Regions from separate parts of the Homo sapiens genome. Here all the other regions are linked to region 1. The links are contacts of gene promoters, found by promoter capture Hi-C in blood cells and fetal thymus (Javierre and others, 2016). All regions are on one chromosome and are shown on one strand. The core of a region is centred on a gene start or on the middle of the fragment in contact, and the rest is flanking DNA. Distances in the headings are between cores, read along the strand shown.

Region 1 (4,183 bases), core at 924-3,423:
GCCACTGCCACCAGTAAGACCTTTCTAGTTACCCTAGCCTGAAGCATTCTTTCCTAGGGAATCCTATAGGATTTCATTTTAACTGTTCATGGTACACTTGTGTACACATCTTTTCTTGCTTTCTAGAGTAGATCCTCCTTAAAGCCAGGGTCATTGCTTATACATGTCTTTATCTCCAGATCACCTTATATATTTGAGTATGGGGGTTTAAGAACAGATACCATAACACAAGACTAGAAAGCCATGATGGATTTAAATTTCAGTTCCACCACTCATTTCAGATGTGCAATAGTGGGCAAATTTACTTAACCTCTTTCAAGTTTGACTTATGTAAAACAGGAATATTATTATTATCTACCTCTTAGTGCTGTAAGAATTAAATTCAGAGTTAGCCAGTTAGAGCAGTGCCTGACCTACAGTAACCACTTCACAAACATATAACTCTATCTCCCAGCTGCTGTGAGAATTAGGCAGCCATGTTTAGCAAAGTGCATGGCAGACACTAAATATTCTATGGTAAATGTACAAATGAATGAATTCACGTTTTGTATTTTCCACAAAGGATTTAAAATATATAAAGAATGAAGGCAATATTTCATTATAGAAATACACTGGTAAATGTAAAGACGGCAAAAGAAAATGAAATTAGGCAGATCCAAGAGCCTTTTCCAAAAACGTCCATTACTGCAACCACAGCAGACCCAAACTACATCAGGTAGTTAGTAATACGAAGTGCTCTAATTAAGAGGCTTGAGGTCTTGTTCAGGGACTGTAACCTGGGTGCCCAAGAAAGTCCACGGATAGTGCTAGCTTCGGCAGCACATAGAGAGGAGATTAGCGTGGCCCCTGCGCAAGTATGACACGCAAATCCGTGAAGCGTTCCATATTTTTTATAAAACAAATTAAAAAAAAAAAGAAGGTCCATGGATTGTGGGGGGGGGTGTCTGTGAATGAATGCACTGAATTTTATGCAAAAATGTTTGTTTCTCTGTGCATTTTCCCTGGGAGTATTCCTAACTTTTTCCTAGTTCCAACTTTGCCACAATTAACCTTGTAGAAACATAATTTAAAAAAATTTTTTAACTTAAGATGAGGGACTTAATCCCTAGCGTCTTCAAGCTCCAAAATGTTTGATTCTGTGCTTCATAACAAGTTTTTTTTTTTTTTTTTTTGAGACGGAGTCTTGCTCTGTCCCAGGCTGGAGTGCAGTGGTGCGACCTCGGCTCACTGCAGCCTCTGCCTCCCGGGTTCAAGCGATTCTCCTGCCTCAGCCTCCTGAGTAGCTGGGACTACAGGGGCCCGCCACCACGCCCGGCTAATTTCTTTTTTTTTTTTTTGCATTTTCAATAGAGACGGAAGATATTCTTATACTATCGTTTTCTTTCCTTATTATTATAACACTCTTGTGCAAACTAGTCTAGGGCGTTTTTTAGGGTTACGGTGATAATAACAAAGTGCTCTAACAATTACTATTCTTACCAGCCACTGGATTTGCAAATGCATAAAAGCACACCAGCCAGTGTTATAAACAGCACCCCCTTCCTCCCAACCCTTCTTCTCCCCTTAGAAACCTAACAGCTGAGATATCAAAGCATTTGAAATTCCATTTTTGACTCCATATACATTTGTTTTTGGCTTCTTTGCTTGTTTATAGTTTGTAGCCAGCACACACTATCCCCAGAATAAGCCCAACAGGAGTGTAGATTAACTACCACCGTTTTAAAGGCAAACTTTAGTTTTACCAAAGCCTCCTACGGAGTTCAACACATTCGGCTTCTGTGTTTCCCTACACCACCGATCCCGCTGCAGACTGCAGGAGCTCTGGCAAGCGCCACAAGCGCCAGGGGAGACAAAACCCCTCACTAGCAGGCTTTGCCTCCCCAAATCACCCCGGTCCCCTAGGCCCCACCGCCTTCTCCCTTCCTGGAATCAAACGACCAAGACCCCGCAAGGCCTGAGGCGGCGGCCGCAGCGGGAGCCCAGACCACTGCTTACCGCGGCCCTCAGTCCAGAAGCTCCAGGAATCGGCCGTAACCTATGGGACCCCGCTCCCTTCTACGGGATCTGGACCTACCATGGCTGCGTCGGTCCAATCCCGGGAACCCTCGTTTGTTACCGGCTACTCAGGCCTTGAGATAAACCCACCGATCCACTGACCGTCAGACTGACTGACGTGGAACTTCCGGGAGCCGATTCTCGCGATAGTCAGAGGCCAGGGCCGGAGCGCCTGCGCAAACTGCGCGCAGGGCCGTCGTTTCCCAAGCCCCGCCCCAGTTTCCTAGGCAACGTGGCCTTCCAGACCGCTGGTAGTGGACTTGAGGCTGTCGGGAAGGAGGGGTGTGGCCTAGACCACTAAGGGCCGTGACGTGGTGCCGCTGAGCTTGGACCCCGACCAGAAGATAGAGATTGAAACGATGAGGAAAACGAAGTGCCTAATCCCCGCTGGACGCTAACTGCAGGGCAAGCTCCCCAGTGTTGTAGTTGTGTTTCGGAGGCCGAGAACCGCTATCGGGCTTCCTCGGACTCTGGCCCTGGAGGGGGGAAACGGCGAGGGAGAAGGCGAAACGAGTCTCCAGTGTGTTCTTGGGGCCTGGTGCGAGGCCCAGAGAATTCTCTGCAGGCCTTTGCCCGGGCACTGATTAAGGCTGCGAAGAGACGCACCGGGCTGCGGGCTTAGTAGCTTCAGGCTTCTGAAGTCAGAGGGAGGGCTGAGAGCTTACACTTCTGGAGCTCCCCGGGAGACGGCAACTACCCAACCGTGTGGGTGTGTTTGTGTATGTGTCTTTTGTTGAGCTTCGGCTGGCTGTGTTATTCATTCAACAAATATTTATCGATCTTCGGCAGTGTGTCAGACATACCTTCTTCTCAAATCTTCACATCAAACCTGAATTATCTCCATTTAATGATGAGGAAACTCGGGCTCAAAGAAGTTAAGTGTTCTAGCCAAGACTGCATAGTAAGTGGCAGATAAAACCTCAAAGTTGGGCCGGGCGCGGTGGCTCACGCCTGTAATCCCAGCACTTTGGGAGGCCGAAACGGGTGGATCACCTGAGGTCAGGAGTTCGAGACCAGCCTGGCCAACATGGTGAAACCCCGTCTCTATTAAAAATACAAAATTAGCCTGGCGTGGTGGCGGGCGCCTGTAATCCAAGCTGTTCCAGAGGCTGACAGGAGAATCGCTTAGAACCCAGGAGGTGGAGGTTGCAGTGAGCTGAGATCGCGCCACTGCACTCCAGCCTGGGCAACAGAGCAAGACTCTGTCTCAAAACAAAACACCTCAAAGTTTGTGCTCTTTCTACTACATAAAAATATCTCTTCATTAATGTGGCTGAATTCTAAGGGCCTGTGCCATAGGGGTTACACTACACAATAAAGTTCGAGAACATTTGCCTGTCACACGCACTGCACATCTCCTGTATTTCCTTTTTTTTTTTTTTTTTAAGAAAACATGTGGACCATAGAAAACTTGCCCTCTGGTTACACGTACAAACGTGTATTTTTAACTTGAGAGAAATCTTAAAGTCTTTTCAGACCTCCAGATTTTCAGAAAGGCAAAAAGAAAAATTATGTATTTGTGTGTGTAGATAATGATAATCAGAGGGAGATGATTTTGCACGAAATTATTTGGCTTTAGTAGGAGCCTTGAGCTAATGTGACTCTCTTCATGGGCCTCAGTTTTCATCATCTTAAAAAAAATCCAGCTACATGGTTTCTAAAGATCCTTCCATTTTTTTTTTTTTTATGTTTCTGTGGCATTCAATAGTGGAAAAAAGAGTCTGGAACTGGAGTTTAGTGCCAGCAGTGTGATCTTATGTAAATTGAGACTAATAATTCTAGTAATTGCATACTTTGCTTACTCTATGGAGTGACTGAGGATCCTGAGTTGAAAAAATTATATGAACTATACCTAATTTGCTTGAATAGTGGAACTTTCAATATTTCTAACTCCTGAATACTCTTGCACTTGAGAGAGTATTTTTGGATTTGGCACAGTACTAAGTGATACAAAATAAAATGATGTATCTCTATTGTCAAGGGGCTCAGCTGGGAATGCTTAAATCTTTGTATACCACTGGGCCACCTAAGGGTCTACCTAGCTGGTGTTGCGGGCCTGAACCCTCAAGTGTCATTCTTACTTGGACTATATCTTTTCTCATGTTTTCCACTGCAATTAGCCAAAATT
Region 2 (4,183 bases), core at 1,099-3,598, 6.7 Mb before region 1:
CTTTCTTCACATTTGAACATAACACAAAATGTTAACTAAATTTATTTTATTCCTTTTTCCAACCCTTTAAAGAACTGAGGTAGCTTTAAATTCCGTCTTTCAAAATCTAACCTTCAAATGAATTTAGAGTTCCACTTTTTAAAGTCTAAATTGTACTTCTCAGTAATATGATATTTTAACACATAAATAAGAAAATGTTAAGTAGTTCTCTTCTAAAAAACTAGAAGATTTTAAAATCTAAAGCTCTTAAACATGTGGGGTGTATGCATTTATGATGCTCTTTTCCTCTTACGTTCAAAACACAACACAAAAGAAATCTCTCCTTACCAAGTTGCCTTTTTTCTTTATAGCTTTCTGATGAATTTTAAAGGATTTTTTCCTAAAATGTTCAGCTTGTTCATATCTTAAAAAAAAATTACAGTAAGTCAAACAAAAGAAACATATTCAAAGTATACTTCAGTGAAATGAAAGCACTCTTTTCATAGTGTAAAGTCTTTTTGGGCTATTAAATACAGCATTTTTTCTAGAAATGATAGTCATGACATTAAGAATCTCTAAAAACCCTTTCATAAAACAAAATATGACAAAACACTAAGATATCTTAGTCTATCATGGATGTTTTTCTAATAAAAAGTTCTGTTCAATTAAAAAAATTTTGACAAAACAAAGCAAGTCTAGTCCTTTAAGTAGCTGACATCTGATCATCTTTAACTAATTTAACTCATCCTAAGTCTCTGAAGGGCAACCTAACTAAATGAAAAGTCAAAATTTCAGTTTTCTATAGCACACTAATAATTTTTAATTAACAACTTTTTCTGCACAGGCTAATTTCTGGTCAAGTTTAAATGTGAAATTCACACAAAATTTGTACGAAGCAATACTTCTATAAGTTAAAAAATTCCATTATGTATCACTTATGATAGAGCAAAAGAAATAATTTTTAATAGAGGAAGAGATGCCATTCATTGGGTGCCTGATAGATAAGAAAGACTTTTTATTATACCAGAGATTGGCTTTTTCTATAACGGGCTAGAGAGTTAATATTTTAGGCTTTGTGGGCCGTGTGCTTTCTGTTCCAAGTGAGGAACTCCGCCACTGAAGCACAGAAGCAACCATGGATAATATATACATGAAAAAAATTTGGCTGTGTTCCCTTTAAACCTTATTTACACAACTGGACTTGGCCTATGGGCAATGGTTTGCTGGCCCCATAAAGGTTGAACATCCCTAATCTGAAAACCCAAATTCTGAAATGCTCCAAAATCAGAAGCTTTTTGAGTGCTGTCATGATGCCACAAGTGGAAAATTCTGCACCTGACCTCAAGTGATGGGTCAACTCAAGCCACAGTCAAAACTGTGTTTTATGCACAAATTAAAACTAGTACACAAAATTACTTTCAGGCTATGTGTATAAGGTGTATATGAAAAATACATTTCATGTTTAGACTTGGGTCCCATCCCCAAGATATCTCATTATATATATGCAAATATTCTGAAATCTGAACAAATCCAAAATCCTGAACATTTCTGGTTCCACATTTGGATAAAGGATACTAAACCTATATTAGTAAAGCACTCAAAGTTAGTCAGTGAATGAGCCAGGATTCAAACCCAAGACTATATGACTCGAAAGTCCATGTTCTATCCTTCATGCATCTTCAAACAGAGATGAATCTTATAGTTCTCATTTTCTCTGTTTACCACATGAAGACTAGGCACAGGGTAAGGAAAAGTACACAGTGATAAAACAAAGCTTACCCTATAAGTACACTAAAACTGTAATCCCCCTGCATAAAATCAGGTATTACTGATCTAAAAAATCTTACTTATTTTGTTTCTGGTACAAAGTTGCAAGTGCTTCAAGTTCACGAGCAGTATATGGATGGTCCGCACCATAAGCATTTTCTGAGATTTCCAACGCCTGTTTATACAGTTGTTCTGCATTGCCAAACTTCTTCCACTGCACGTATACACTTGCTAGTTGGTGGAGGGACTGGGCTACTCTTGGGTGATCGGGATCTAAAGCTGTTTCTCGAATCTCTAAAGACCTCTGCAAAGGTACTATGGCCTGGGGGGAAAAGGGGTGAAAGGCCAGTTAAAGTGAGTGAAATGCTGCAAGATCTGTCATCTGATTAAATATTAAGGATTATAGCACAACAAATGAAAACCACATTAACATCTTGGAAAAAGAGAAGAGTGAACACAAAAATCCCACCTGTCTCTGGCTTGCCATTGATCTGCTGAGCTTACCTGACTGAGAAGGCCTAGATCCTTGAGAAATCGCCCCAAGGTTTCATAAAGATCAGCTAAGCAACTCATGTTGTCCTCGCCTTCGCAGTTTTTCTCATACTGCTTCAATGAATCGAAGTATTCTGTTGCCATTGCACTTTTGTCTTTGCCAACAAACTGCCAATAACTCAGCAACTCAGCAAAGTGTCCCCTGTTTCAACAAATAACAGTACTTTAATGAAAAACACACTTTAAAATCCATTACAGAATCAAAACTCCAGAATTAATATCAAGTTATTGACAATTTATTAGTAGGCGAGTACTGTGTAATGAGGTAAGACTCAGACCACTCACTATCTGAATTCCACCACTATCCTAGCTATGTAATCTTGAGCAGGTTATCTGACCTCTTAGACCTCATCACCTTCATCTGCAGAAATGGAGACACTACCTGCCTCAGCTGGTACTGTAGGGGGATTATGGCACACAGTAAGTACTCCACGGTGTTGGCTGTTATCCTTAATACCATCATGGCTACTTACCAATGGGAATCTATCTGAATCCTTTTTACACATTTCACAATATGGAGCCAACCACTGAGTTCACTCCCAAAATTATTTTAAGTATGGAAATTCAAAGAGAAGAAACTAATAAAAAATAAACTGTCACAGAGTATCTACTTTGTATTTTCATCAAGAAATTGAATGACAAAAGTAAGCTTATTCATCTGTAGGCGATCTTAAGTAGTATGGGGCTGGTAAACTAAAAAATATCTGATTTCAAAGGAATCATGAAAAATTGGAATGGAGATCAGAAATAAGAGATGCAACAAATTTGAGAGAGTTTATGTAGGAGCAAAATAAATTATGATACTTATTGTATAAGAAATGTCTAAATCTCTAAGTAAGGCAGAAAAAAACCCTCATGAAGCTTAGTAGGTTAGACAGTTGCCTCATAAAAAGGTAGTTCTGCCACTGACAAACTATAACATATCAAAAGAGACAAACAGAATACATTTTTGAATTAGGGTAATTCTTTCTTTAAATTCAACACCAGACATAGAAAGTAAACAAACAAACAAAAACAAATAAATTCAACACCAGACAGATTCTACTTGGACCCGAGTCTGGTTTGAAGGCTACGCTTTCAGATATCTGAAGGCCCAAAGAAGCAGACATTACGAACCACCTCTCTGAGTGGTTTAAATTTAGACATGCTTAAATGTAAGCATAAGATAAAAAGTTGAACCGAAATCATTCCAGCTCTGATTTCATAAAGCAGCAGTACTCTATGTTTTCCTCTTGGGAAAAGCAGATCTAATAGAGATTTGTAAATTGTCTCAAGATTTCTCCTACACTATTTGTATTTCAGATACTTAGACTAATTTTTAAATTAAAAATACCATTTTTTCTTTGTTAAACTGAACAACTTTAAATCTCTCTTTCTGGGGAAAGATGTTCTATAATGTTTCTTACCTTTTATAAAGGTTTTGAGACACAAAGAGATTAAGAAGGCAATCATGCAGCTTCTGTTTACTTCCCTGCTGCTGAAAAAGCCACGGGAGTTCATCTGCACTTCTCCAAGTCACTCTGTCCTGACTATCAAAAGAGAGGAGACAATATTCAATATCTTCCTACAATGAGACTGCTTCAAAAAGGCTTCAGGCAAATGTCAAAGGAAGAAAAATATTTAACATATATCTCTGATTCTTTAAGTATAATTTAATACTAAAAAAGTTAGGTCAAAATCAGAGACTTTACCAATCTAAGAAAATAAATTCAGTGATATGCAGAACCATCAACCAAACTCTAAAAGTATTTTCCTAAAATTGAACTATTTAAAAAAACACTCAATGGACCCGTATATACACATACAGATACATGGACACAAACTATTGGAATAAAATAAAAATAATAAAATGATCCTACATTGATTTTCCTTGTTTAAACTTTTA
Region 3 (4,183 bases), core at 196-2,695, 6.7 Mb before region 1:
TAAAAATATTCATAATTTATTAGGACATAAACTCTTTGCAGCAGGAAGTACCTCCTTCTCAACCTCCTAGAGCAACAAAATTAATGTCTGAATCAATAGCTACTTATGAACATGATGATTTTCTAATCAATTATATTTGTCAGAATATCTACATCCTTGATAACCTTAAGTAAATGGTTATTTGAGCTAAATCTCTGGCAAAACTGAGCTTACTATTTGTAGCTCTTTGAATCTCACATGGGTGACATTCCCCCTCAAGTGTTCCTTCTTCATGTTTAAAACAAAAATGAAAAAAGACCTAGAAAGGAATTTGTTTCTAACTTGCCAAGACAATTACAATAGTTTTGAAACACTGTACATTTGAGTATGTCAATACTGAAATAATCACTAAGACTTGTGTTGGGGTATAAAAGAGCATTTTCTCAGCTACTCTTGGCCATTAAGAATCTTTTTTTTTTTTTTTTTTTTTTTTTGAGATGAGTCTGGCTCTGTTGCCACACTGGAGTGCGGTGGCGCGATCTTGGCTCACTGCAACCTCCACCTCCTGGGTTCAAGTGATTTTCCTGCCTCAGCCTCCCGAGTAGCTGGGACTACAGGCACGCACCACCATGCCCAGCTAATTTTTGTATTTAGTAGAGACGGGGTTTCACCATGTTGGCCAGGATGGTCTTGATCTTTTGACCTCGTGATCCGCCCGCCTTGGCCTCCCAAAGTGCTGGTATTACAGGCATAAGCCACCGTGCCCGGCCTTCATTTTTTTTCCTTAAAAGTTAGCAATAAAAATTCCAGGATGTTGGTCAGATTCCAATGATACTACAATGAAAATTAAGAAGGAACTGTCAGTTACCATATTTTACTCCAAAATGCATCCATTTGTGAGAATATACTTACAGTTCATTACAAATGGGAGAGTGACTACATTTTTCCACTGCATTTTAAAATAGAATATTTTTCTTTTTTCAGTATCAATCACACTTTAACATTTTCTTAGAATATGTAAACCCTTTCACTCTGTGATTTCAAGCTTTTATTTCCAGAAAACATGTTTCATTTGTTTAATTATAAAACAAATACTTTTTGAATAGTTCACAAGGCTATACTGGAAACCACTCAGTGAACTATAAGGCAAGTATTCTAAATGATAGTTGCAAAGAATACATCATTATGTAAAGAAATAACATTGCAGAGACTAGTAACTCCAATATCCATTCTCCTCTTCTTTCTTCAGTAACAGAACACTACATTTTAGTTGGACACATGTCTGCCTGGCTGCTGATTACACTATCCAGTCTTCCCAGTTATAGTTCTGACTAATGGGATTTGAGAAGTGATCTTAGGTTGTACCTTCTGGGAAAGGAACGTGTTCTCCCCTTCCTTCTTTCCCTTGGCTAAAATGCAGATGTGCTGGTGGGAGCTGGGGTAGATATCTTAGACTAGAGAGTAAAAGTTATGGGTTAGGGTTGGCAGAGTGACAAGGTAGAAGGAACTTCAGTCCCCAAATTCATACACTTCGTGGAGAAGAGGTGTCTTAGCAGCTGACAGAGAGAACACACGACACTATTTGCAACAGTAGTTAAAGCAATAACCTAATATAGATAAGTAAAAGAAATCTAGCAGAATTCAAAGTTGGCTCTACATGTCATTACAGCCATGTTGAAAGCTCAAAATATAAATAGGATATACACTTACCAGTGACATCTGTACAGTTGTCATCTGAATCAGACTCCCCAGGATCAAATACTTGGATACCCTGAGCCTGTAGCCTCTGAAGTTTGCTCTCCAACTCCCTCTTGGCCCTCAGTAAGTCCTGAATTTCATTTTCTTTGGTCTCCCTAAAAATCTTTAAAAAGAATAATTTTAATGTTGAAAGCTTTTTCATAATCAAAAAGTTGTGTCATCAACTTTAAGGGAAAAATATTTCATTCATAAAACCAATATTCATTTGGTCCTCGATTTCCTCTTTCATAGGGTGAATGTCCTAGTACCTTTACCTTACTGTTTTGCAACTGGAAGCCACTGGAATTCCAGCAGGATGCGTGTCTGTGGTGTGGGTCTGTCATGTGCACTGCATGATGTTTAGGAAATTTGTCTCTCTCCCACTAAATACCAATAATACAACATCCCTAAACATTTCCAAATGCTTTTCCCCATATGGAAACGCTTTCCTTTTTTTCGAAATTACTATTAAAATGTTCACTTTCATACGTTTTTCTTTGAAATGATCTCAAGTTTACCACGTCCAACTCAAAAATGTGAAAGTGCTCTACACTAATTCTTACAACTTTCCTGAATCCTACATGACTTACTTCTATTTATTCATCGCATTATATATTATATATACTTTTAGAATATACTATTTTATTCTATGTTGCTTTGGGGGTAAAAATGTAAGGAATTTACCTTGAATTGCCTTTTAACTTTATCTCTGTCATGTTCAAATGTTGCTGCTCTCTCCATTGCTTGGTATTTCGCTTCTAAAGCACTTTCTTTTTCTCGAAGTATCTTCTGATACGTTTTTTGAAGTGCCTAGAATAATTTACCTTGTTATTTCCTAACAAAAATAGTCTTGCTCCTCAATTTTACATTCTTATATATATACATATATATATATATATGTTACGTATCTTAGAATTTTAAGTCTACTTATTATTTTACCAATTATCAGGAACTTCATGTTGCCATTTTATTCAAAACATGATGGAAAAAAACCGCAACCATGCTTGAACTACCACAAATAAAGACCAACATTAAGCTTTCAATGGAAATTAACTTTTTTTGAAACACTGCATCAGCTCTTAAACTTCCTTATGCCTTTTCCATCTTTGTGATAGTAAAAATTACATTTTGTAAGGCTTAACTTGAAGGATAAGTAGTTCTAAGAGACTGTGTGCCTGTTGGCACTATGTCTTATTCATCTCACCATCCCTTGAGCACTTCACAGTGCCTGGTACACTGCAAGTCTCCAGTAAATGTCTGACACAATGAATGAAATAAATATGGATAAGTTTTTTCATGCCTCGATATGTGAGAAAGGAACCAGTATGTTTCACAGGGAATCAGGATTGGTGACATGAGTGACTGTGACACTTGCCAACCCTTATTGCACTCCGCCCTGTTTGGTTTGGCCTTTTCTACCCCCACCTCACAGTTGTTTCCAACGTGCGGTGTCTGTTGGGCAGTGGCTTGGATACATTGAATCAGATATTTGAAATGCACTAGTCCATTTTATACATGCAAGTGCATTAAGGTTGCCCAGTAGGAAAACTGATAAGACAACAGATAAACTGCTACACGGACTTCTTCCCAGACAACGACAATAATTACACAACAGCTAATGAGGGAGTTTAAAAACAAAAACAACAACAACAACAACAACAAAACCTGACTAGAAGAATGTCTAGTCTTGAAGACAGGAGGCTTTTTTTCTTTTAGAAAAATCAGTCTGAGGTATTTATTTCACCCCGACTGTAACGACTCCGGGAACTCTTAGGCTGCCTATAAGTCTCTCCCACAGTAAAGAGTACACAAACGACACAACAACGACCAGAGGGGCCCCAAACTGAGGGCAAAAAGTTTTAGAGATTCGTTCACAGAAAAGCAACCTCTTGCTTTATACTATTTTTTTTTTTTTGATACGGAGTCTCGCTCTGTCACCCAAGCTGGAGTGCAATGGTGCAATCTCGGCTCACTGCAACCTCCGCCTCCCGGGTTCAAGCAATTCTCTTGCCTCAGCCTCCTGAGTAGCTGGGATTACAGGCGCGTGCCACCATGCCCGGCTAATTTTTGTATTTTTAGTAGAGACGGGGTTTCACCATGTTGGCCAGGCTGATCTCGAACTCCTGACCTCAGGTGATCCGTCCGCCTAGGCCTCGAAAAGTGTTGGGATTACAGGCGTGAGCCACCACGCCCGGCTGCTTTACATACTATTTTATTGAATTATAATGGACCTGCTACATGGAGGGCATGCAATAATTGCTTTTAGCGTAAATTAATCAAATGGACTAGGGAAATTTGACTACATCTAGAGAAGGTTTTCAACCATGGTGAGATCAGGAGGCTTCCAGAAATTTTCATGTCAAGACCATTAAAATGCAAGAGCGATGAAACTTTACAAAGAAACCGACACTTGAGCCCCACTTTGGAGACCCACTTAAAATTTTTATGGTGGGGAGGGGGGTGAAAC

Evidence for each region. The method cuts DNA at HindIII sites, captures the fragments that hold promoters and counts their contacts. A CHiCAGO score of 5 or more calls a contact.
Region 2: a contact is called between a fragment that was not itself captured here and the fragment with the promoter of COPB2 in region 1, in 1 of 17 cell types (M2 macrophages). The highest score is 6.2, in M2 macrophages.
Region 3: a fragment that was not itself captured here is called in contact with the fragment with the promoter of COPB2 in region 1 in 1 of 17 cell types (total B cells); the score reaches 6.4 in total B cells.

The regions. Positions count from the first base shown.
Region 1 is chr3:139,387,474-139,391,656 of GRCh38, forward strand. It overlaps COPB2 (coat protein complex I subunit beta 2), which reads right to left and starts at 2,174. Exons shown (of 22, transcript NM_004766.3): 1 at 2,075-2,174. The coding sequence starts at 2,077. COPB2-DT (COPB2 divergent transcript) reads left to right here and starts at 2,330. Exons shown (of 5, transcript NR_121609.1): 1 at 2,330-2,460. It also overlaps the pseudogene LOC124906339. RefSeq lists enhancers at 1,852-2,101, 1,898-2,459, 2,392-2,691, 2,460-3,022, 2,902-3,011. The HindIII fragment of the contact is 7,530 bases long and covers 1-4,183 here.
Region 2 is chr3:132,686,824-132,691,006 of GRCh38, forward strand. It overlaps NPHP3 (nephrocystin 3), which reads right to left. Exons shown (of 27, transcript NM_153240.5): 19 at 3,705-3,827; 20 at 2,251-2,440; 21 at 1,827-2,068; 22 at 328-403. It overlaps NPHP3-ACAD11 (NPHP3-ACAD11 readthrough (NMD candidate)), which reads right to left. Exons shown (of 45, transcript NR_037804.1): 18 at 3,705-3,827; 19 at 2,251-2,440; 20 at 1,827-2,068; 21 at 328-403. Among named protein-coding and RNA genes, the nearest start is that of UBA5, 29 kb to the left of the region's middle. The HindIII fragment of the contact is 1,194 bases long and covers 1,752-2,945 here.
Region 3 is chr3:132,717,305-132,721,487 of GRCh38, forward strand. NPHP3 (nephrocystin 3) reads right to left here. Exons shown (of 27, transcript NM_153240.5): 2 at 2,401-2,526; 3 at 1,690-1,840. It overlaps NPHP3-ACAD11 (NPHP3-ACAD11 readthrough (NMD candidate)), which reads right to left. Exons shown (of 45, transcript NR_037804.1): 2 at 2,401-2,526; 3 at 1,690-1,840. Among named protein-coding and RNA genes, the nearest start is that of NPHP3-AS1, 2.4 kb to the right of the region's middle. The HindIII fragment of the contact is 846 bases long and covers 1,023-1,868 here.